Regions from separate parts of the Homo sapiens genome. Here regions 2 and 3 are each linked to region 1. The links are contacts of gene promoters, found by promoter capture Hi-C in blood cells and fetal thymus (Javierre and others, 2016). All regions are on one chromosome and are shown on one strand. Each heading gives the region's core, a stretch centred on a gene start or on the middle of the fragment in contact. The rest is flanking DNA. Distances are from core to core; before and after follow the strand shown.

Region 1 (2,700 bases), core at 95-2,594:
AATATCCACTGAACATGTTGAAAGCCTGCTTTGCACCAGGCACTGGGCTAAGCCCTGGGGAAATCATGTTCAAAAATCCCAAAGATGTCTCTGTGCTCCTGGAGTTTGCAGGCCAGCAGAAGAGACAGATATTAATAAATGGGAAATCACAGTTGTCGGGGCATGATGAATGTGAAATACACAGTACTTTGAAAGCATGTTAGGGGTCAAGGGAGGCCTCCATGAAGGTTGATTATTTGAGCTGACATCTGAAGGATGAATAGGCTTCACTAGATCCAGAGGGCAGAGGAGGTGAAGAGCTTTTCACAGGGCCCTGTGGAGAGTTCAGCATGGCTGCAGGGCAGAGAGCATGGGGGGACTGAGTGTCAGACAGGCTGGCAGGGGCCAGTTAGTCCAATTATGTAGCTTCTTGTCACATGAGATAAGATACACGATAAGGTAAAATATACCCTGGATTTTGGAGGCAATAAAAAATTTTCATACTTATATGTTGACATAATGATTTGCATATAGCGGGCAAAGTATATTATTAAAATTAGTTTCACCTGTTTTTACTTTTTAAAACATGGCTACTAGCAATTTTAAATTACATATGTGGCTTGCATTACATTTCTATTGGGCAGCATTAGTCTAGATGAAAGGTTTTGGTCTTTGTCCTAAAACACCACCAAGCCATTCTGGTTTTTAGCAGAGAGCTGTCATAATCAGACTTGCATTCTGGAAAAGAGAAAAGCCTCACTGTCCCCAAAAGAATCCTGTGGGGTATGCACATTATTATTTTCATTTTCAGACAGGAAAATTGAGGCTGAAAGGGGAAGTAGTTTGTTCAGGTTGGTAAATGGCCAGATATGGATGTGACCAGGGCCAACTACATAATTTGCAAAGCCGAGTGCAAAAGGAAAATGAAGAGGAAGCCAATTTCCCCTTCTCACAGCCGCTGCTCTAACCCAGGGCAAATGGGTGACGCCCAGGGTATTGCGACCTCCCCACTTGAACGCACCAACTAGCTGGATGGGGGTGGGTGAGAGTGTCCAGGGCTGCCTGCCACTCCTCAACTTCTGATCCTTGTTTTGCCTGGGCAAAGGTGACAGCGGAATGAGGGACTCTGGCAGAGGGTTACAGCAGTGGTGGGGCTGGTCTGGGTGTGGAGACCATATGTATGAGCTGAGGCTCCAACTCCCAACCCTGGCACATGCTCCATTGTCCCATCGGACACCACTTACAAAACAAGTTCAGGGCTAAAATTATGACACATTTCAAGTCAACAATCACAGAATGTTGAACCCCAAGCCCAGGGCCTTTCTGAATGCAAGGCCCTGGGCAGCTGCACTGATCACAGACTTATGAAGTCAGCCCTGTTTGTGCCACCCTGCCAGATGCCTCCAAGGAGATGAGACGCTCCTGCCCAACTCAGCCCCTTCCCAGGACAGGAATAATGTCCCCTCCCCTAGTGAGCGGGGATCTGCAGTCTTCTCTTTGCCTTTCAATTCTGGGCCCTGGAGGTGGCTCAGGGCTGTGGCTCCTTCTCAGGCAGCCCCTGTAGCAGCTGGGCCCCAGCCCACCTGCCAGTACCTGACCTGATATCGATACCTGATAGAGATACCAGAACCTGACCTGAAACGAGGCCTTCCTGCCTCACTGCTAACTCACCCAACACACAGCCCGAGAACTTTCCCTGCCCTGTCCACTACGTTTGAAAGCATTTTATTCTGTGGTCAATGTGTCAGCTCTGTGAACGGCCAGAGTCTCATAGAGGTCACAAAGCATGCCCTTTGCACTCAGGCAGATTTGGGTCTGAATTCCTCTGCCACTTAGTAGCTTTGACACCTTGGGCAAGTTACATAACCTCTCTGATCTGAAAATGAGGTTAACAATCCTACCTCACCAGATTGTAAGAAGTCAATGAGAAAGTACACAGAAGGTACAACTTCCTAGCAGTTGTGAGCACCAGTAATTGCTGGCTGCTATTATTATTTATTATAGCTATAGACACTTGCTTCCTTCTGAAAGGACCTTTGGTCTAGTTGCTCTGCTCTTCACTACCCCACTGGCAGAGTGGCGGAGGCCACAGGGCACTGCTGGCCACAGCATCACCTGTGTCCCAGCCTTCCCCAGCCCCCTGTCCCATCCTCCTTGAGGACCATGTTGGGAACAGGACTCCCAGACTCACCTGCTGGCTTCTCCCCGATGTCCTGTTCCGGTTCAGCCATGAGTCACCTCTAGTCCGTCAGATGTGCAGCCCCTCTCGCATTTATGCACAAGCTCCCAACCAAATAAAAAGCACTTTCTACAGCCTCAGCACATCTGTCTGCAAGGTAACAACAGTGTGTTCTTGCCAGCCCAGTGAGATAGAGCAGGGTCATTTTTATTTTATAGATAGGGAAAAGGAGGCTGCAGCGTGTGGCATGATTTGCACAGGGTGAGGCCAGTGAAGGAAGGTACTGAAGTAAGGCTCCAGACTCTCTTCTCAGGCTGTCCCCACTGGAAGACGGTGCAGGCCGGTAGTACTCACCCGAGGGAATGGTGCCCTTCGGAGGGGAGGCCAGAGAGGCACAGCAGGCACCCAGCCAGACCCGAGAAGGGGGCCAGGCCCTCTTTCTTGGAAAAGGTTGGTAGCTTCTACACCAGGGGTAAGAAAAACCAAACACTTTGTTTCTCGGTTTGAATGGACTCCTCCTCCCCATTTCACTGTCTTTACTC
Region 2 (2,700 bases), core at 201-2,700, 130 kb before region 1:
GAAAGAACTTGCCCAGTGGAGGGGTAGAAGTCCCTGGTCTGACTGCCTGGGAAAGGGGAATCTTCTCCACTCCCACCCCTATCCCATGCCCAGCCAGATCTTGGTTCTGATAGCCTATAGCCAAGGAGACTTCCCTTCTAGTGACCTCCTGGCTGCCCAGAGAGATAGGAGGTGGCTTGCCCCTTCTGCACTCTTACTGGCTCCCACCCACACCTGCCGCTGAGCAGCCAAGGAAGGAAACACCTTCTCTTGAGAACAAGGGCCAGAAAAGGGGTCACCGGGGTGAAACTGGACAGACCTGTGGGCAAAGGCAGGGAAGAGAAGGGCCAGGGAAAGATTTGCCAGGGAGAATTCCTTCTGAGCCCCAACAAGCGGTGCTGAGTTGGCGTCTGGGATTGTGTTAAGGAAGACAGGGCAACAGCGGGATTGAGAGATGGAGGGATCCCCGCATCTGAGGGGATACCGGGAGAAGGAGAGCTGAGGCAAGCAGGAGAAGGAGAGCACTGACAAGCCCATTTTACAGATCAGGAATGTAGAGTTTCAGCCTTAGGAGGAGGACGAGGACGAGGACACTCACGTGGGGCTCCTCCTGGGGCTTCACCTGTCCTTCCCCCCCCAACCCTGATCAGGCTGAAGCAGAGGGAATTCACACATGTTGGGTGCCCACTAAGTGTGCCAGGAAATACGCTTTGCCTACCCTTTCCATTCAATCCTCAGAGAACCCTGGGAGGAAGATTCTCTTCTATGATTGTCTCTATTTTACGGATGTGAAAGTAGAGGCCCAGAGACGTGCCGAGGTGATGTGGCAAGGTCAGGGAGCCACAGAGCCTAAGAGGGCAGCAGTTTAAGAGGACATAAGAGGCCCCCGCTGGACGATGCTGCGGCCCCCACCCCCGCCTCACGGGTACACACCCGCGGAGCACACCCCGTGTGCTCCCCGTGTGGCGCCTGCCAGTGGTCTCTGGAACCTGATGGGGAAGAGGTCAGCTTCCTGATTGAGCACAGAAGCCCTTCCCATTTTACAGATGAGGAAACTGACCTCCGGAGAGGAACGTGACCTTCTCAAAGATTCCTTTTTTACTAGGAAAGATTGTTAAATCCCTCTCCCTACGTCCCCTACTCAATGACTCATCGGCCCCACGGACTTGTTCGGGAGTGGGAGCGCCTGTGTATCCCAGTTCCCCCTTGGAAATAGACTCGACTCCTGGACTGTTAGCCTCGGTATTTAGAGAGACATCCCCCTGGCTTGGCCCAGGGGCCGCTCGCAGGGGCTGTCGCCGTGCCAAGGGCCCCCCCACCTCTGCCCCAAAGTCCCTCCCAGGGAGGCGCTGTCGCAACCCGCGGGACGGGGGCAGGGAGACCGGACCCAGAGGCACTGGGGTAGGGCTCGGCAGGGCGGGTCCGGGCGGAGCGCGGGGTGCGGAGGGCGGAGGCGGCTCCGGCGCCCGCTCTGCCCGCCGCTGGGTCCGACCGCGCTCGCCTTCCTTGCAGCCGCGCCTCGGCCCCATGGACGCCCTGTGCGGTTCCGGGGAGCTCGGCTCCAAGTTCTGGGTAAGGCGCGGGGCTCCGGGGTCACTGCGCGGGGGCCAGGGTCGGCCGGCTTCGCCCGGTCCCCGCCGCCTGCCTTCCCGCGGGGCCGGCAGGTATCCCGGGACGGAGCCCCTGAGACGGCCTGGGCGCCCGGGAGGGGGCGATGGGCTCGGGAGGGAGGTTGGCTGCGCCGCCCGGAGCCGGGTCCCACGCGGTGTCGGGGACCTGCCCTGCTCTGCCCTTCCCGGCTGCAGCACTGGGGAGCCCGGGAAAGTGAGGAAGAGTGCGCGGCTGGGGCGCAAAGGCACAGTGCGTGGCTGGGTGAGTCGGCTCCATCCCAGCCCCTCCGTCGGGTGCGGAAGGGGCGTTTCGCAATCAGCCGCGGGTTCCTGATGGAGGGTCTTCCCTCAGCATCTGCCTCAGGTTAGGACTCGGTTGCCCACCTGGGCATGGATTGCCCCCAGGGCATCCAGAGCACCTGCTCAACCAGGTGTTTTGGGAGGCCGGCTGTGCAGTGTCCCACCCTTCTTAGGAAGGTTTCCTGCCACCTTCTTTTCTCTAGGTAAGACTGAGGTCTGAGAGCAGGCCATCCCCACCACTCCGGACTCAGAAGGGAGAAGCAGACCCCAGTCTGGAGACAGGTGCAGGGTGTCAGGATTCCTGTAGTCCAACTCCCTTCTCACAGATGGAGAAAGGGAGGCCCAGAGAGAGGAAGGGACTTGCCCAAAGTTACCCAGTTCAATGAAGGCAGAGCTGGGATAGAAAAACAGGCTACAGGCCAGGTGCAGTGGTTCACGCCTGTAATCCCACCCTTTGGGAGGCAGAGGTGGGAGGATCACTTCAGCCCAGGAGTTTTAGATTACTGTGAGCTATGATCGCACCACTGCACTGTGGCCTGGGCGAAAGAGTGAGACCCTGTCTCTAAAAAAATAAATAAATAAGAAAAGAAAATCAAGCCTTTGGTGACTCTCACTCCAAATCTCTTTCTAAGACAGGCTGCTCTTCAGCCTGCTGACTCCAGCCTCCAGCACAGTTCAGGTGAGCTAAGTGCATACAGCCTAGGAGCTTTCTTACCAACTTGCAAAACTTACTTGCCTCTATGAGGCAAGTGATCATGTGGTCTCCGTTTTACAGAGGGAGCTCAGATTAAAGGTGCTTCTCTGTGGTCAT
Region 3 (2,700 bases), core at 31-2,530, 230 kb before region 1:
AAACGGGTTAATAAATAAATCAATAAAGAACCTTCAAGTTTCTACTACTTCCGTGTGCCTCTGTGTCTTGCATGATGGATCTTGGCTAGGTCAGCTCCTGATCCAGGTCCTCCCATGTTCCACCTGCCCTCAGATCCCCTCCTGCCAGCTGCCAGAGCCCTCCTGCAGGAGGACAGACAGACATAGCTGGGGAAGTGATGTGTGGGATGCCAAGCAGAGGAGCAGATTGGTAGCAAGACAAGGAGTCAGGTGACAGGACAGTGTGTCACCTCTGGTAGTCCCTGCCTCTGGCTTCCTTGGCCCACACTTTCAGGGTCGTGCTTCCTGGAGCCAGGTCTTCCCGAAGTGTCATCACCAAGTATGACAAAGTGTGAGATGAGGAGTAGAACTAGACCCATGGGACCTGGCTCCCTGCCATCTCCCCTCTTCAGCTGGGTCCCAGGGCCCCAATTCAGTCCCTGAAGATCATGCTCACCACACCTCTTCAGCTCTAGAGGCCACATCACCTTGTTATTTCGGGGTCTAGTCTGCCTTATCCCCCTCCTCATCTCAAACTATCTGGCCTTGAGCCATCTTTCTGCCTTAAAAACAGCTGCTGATCTTCATGCTACCTCCCTTGCTCAGGGGAACATGAAACAGGCTAGAAATGGCTCTCAGAAAAAAAGGTATTGTCAGCTCAAACTCAGGCCCCTCATTGTCTTCTGTCAGTCATAACCATTTGGGGCTGGGCTCCCTGTGTGAAGAGCACTCCAGGCTCCCAGAGTTTGAAGAACAACTTTGGTTTTTGGGTGGGTGGGCATCCTTAAGTGGGCCTCAGGCATCCTCCAGCTGAGATGCAGGAGGGGGAGGATGGACAGAAGGATCTGACTCCGTGTGGGAAAGGCAGGGAGGGGGCTGTGCTGGAGTCCTGATGCTCTCCTCCCCAAGAAGACGAGAAGACGGGGGCTCCACCAAAGAGCCAGCCCCAGGGAATGTCCCTGCCCTCTCCTTTAATGTCCTCCCGGCCCAGAGGAGGAAGGGGAGGGGTGTGGTGGGGGTGTTGGAGCCCCCCTCCTTTCCTGTTGAAGAGGCAGGGGAAGGGTTAACTCAAAGCAGAGGGGATCAGGTCGCCAGCACTGGCTCCAGATGTGCACTTCCTGGGGGCGGCCAACAGGCAGGCCCCCCACCTCTCAATGCACCACTTGCCTGGCCAGCAGGAAGGGGTTAACCTGCCCTGCACTTCCTCCTGTGTCCTGTTACTGCTGAGGCAGACCTGCCGGGCCAGCTGAGCAACTTTCCTCGGAGTGCTGCCTGGCGCTGGCTAGGAGGCAAACGCACGCGGGAAGAGCTGCTACCCATTCCAGGGACCCTGCCGCTGCCCCTCTGAGGGGTCTGCACCTCCTGGGAGCAGGTGGGTCTCTGGGACGAGGGTCCATGGTGGATGGCTCTGGAGACGCTCCCGAGGCTGTGCCGTCCCGCTGCTGCACAGGTCGGAGGGTCACCGCAGAGGCTACTCGGGCTGGGGCTGGGGCCGAGGGAGCCCGCACTGGAGGTAAGCTTCCTCCCTGGCCCCCTCCCTGGCAGTGGCGGCATGGAAGGCGGGGGTTGGTGGGGAGCAAACAGTGGTTCTGGGGCTTAGTCTCTTTTCCAGGTGCGAGGGAGAAGGCTGAGCTGTAGAGGACCTAAAGGCTTCTTTCCTGCCACCCCTCCCTCCCTGCCGCCCCCAAAAAGGGACTCAGGGCCCCCTCCCCAACCATCCTGGGACTTAGCATCTTTGGTGGCATCTTAGCATCTTTGGTGGCATTCCCCACAGACTCCTTCTGCACATCTCTGCTGTTTCCTCTTCTTCAGCCCCTCATGCACACCTCTAGCCTCAGGGCAGTCCCCCCTCCCCCATCTTCTGTGCTCCCGGGATGCAGCTATTACAGTGGCCAGAAGCTTAGAGTTCAAGCTCACCCCCTGTCCCTTACAGCATCAAGAAGGGCACTGTCATTCCCCACTGCTCAGGCTGGATCTGACTTGGAGGCAGGGGCTGGAGCCCACCTTAGCAGAGGACGGGAAGAGGGTGTGGGCTGGGCTGGTGGGTGCACAGACTTTACGCAAACTCATGCACGTGTGACTGGACAGATCTGGGTTCTCTCCATCTCTCCGAAACCCTTGCTGGGGATGAGCGATCTGCATTTTTCGGTCCTGACTTTTGGGAAACTCTCCAGATCCCCCCATCCTGCAGGCCCTGAGAAGAGCAGCCCCTCCCTACTGCGCAGTTCTCCTTGGGACCCTGTATGCAGGAGAGAGCTGATACTCCGTGCCCCGTGGCCCATCCCACCGCCTGCTGGCCCTGCTCCCATCCCCTCAGCTTCCTCCCTCCTCTGCCCTCTCGTCATCTCTGAATTCTCAGGCCCTGCCCTCTCTGTGCCCTTCCCTCCACCTGACAGGGTCTGGCTCAAGGTCACTGCAGTAATTCCATACCCAGCTGCCCAGGGCTGCTGCTGCTACCGCCACCGCCTTATCGGCCGCTGGGTTTCTGTTACACTCCCTTTTATTTCTGGGCATATCGTGTTCGATAAAACCCTTTGCTTGTAACACTGCTGGCAGCGCTCCCAGCTGCTCCCTCCCGCGTTCCCGCGTTCCTTCCTTTCCTCCTCCCTTCTCTGCGCTTGGGCAGGCTTCTTCCTTTCCTCCTCCCTTCTCTGCGCTTGGGCAGGCTTCTTCCTTTCCTCC

What was found. Contacts are between HindIII fragments. The CHiCAGO score rates a contact against its expected background, and 5 or more counts as called.
Region 2: a contact is called between the fragment with the promoter of ABCC3 here and a fragment that was not itself captured in region 1, in 1 of 17 cell types (M2 macrophages). The highest score is 5.1, in M2 macrophages.
Region 3: a contact is called between the fragment with the promoter of EPN3 here and a fragment that was not itself captured in region 1, in 2 of 17 cell types (M2 macrophages and M0 macrophages). The highest score is 6.8, in M2 macrophages.

Annotation. Positions count from the first base shown.
Region 1 is chr17:50,764,704-50,767,403 of GRCh38, forward strand. It overlaps ANKRD40CL (ANKRD40 C-terminal like), which reads right to left. Exons shown (of 4, transcript NM_001358683.3): 2 at 2,171-2,308. The coding sequence starts at 2,210. Among named protein-coding and RNA genes, the nearest start is that of ANKRD40CL, 1.5 kb to the right of the region's middle. RefSeq lists a silencer at 935-984 and an enhancer at 1,285-1,374. The HindIII fragment of the contact is 4,284 bases long and covers 1-2,700 here.
Region 2 is chr17:50,633,431-50,636,130 of GRCh38, forward strand. It overlaps ABCC3 (ATP binding cassette subfamily C member 3), which reads left to right and starts at 1,451. Exons shown (of 31, transcript NM_003786.4): 1 at 1,451-1,551. The coding sequence starts at 1,507. RefSeq lists a silencer at 1,421-1,470. The HindIII fragment of the contact is 5,138 bases long and covers 1-2,700 here.
Region 3 is chr17:50,531,455-50,534,154 of GRCh38, forward strand. EPN3 (epsin 3) reads left to right here and starts at 1,281. Exons shown (of 10, transcript NM_017957.3): 1 at 1,281-1,531. MYCBPAP (MYCBP associated protein) reads left to right here. Exons shown (of 19, transcript NM_032133.6): 19 at 1-47. RefSeq lists an enhancer at 2,147-2,700. The HindIII fragment of the contact is 5,271 bases long and covers 1-1,534 here.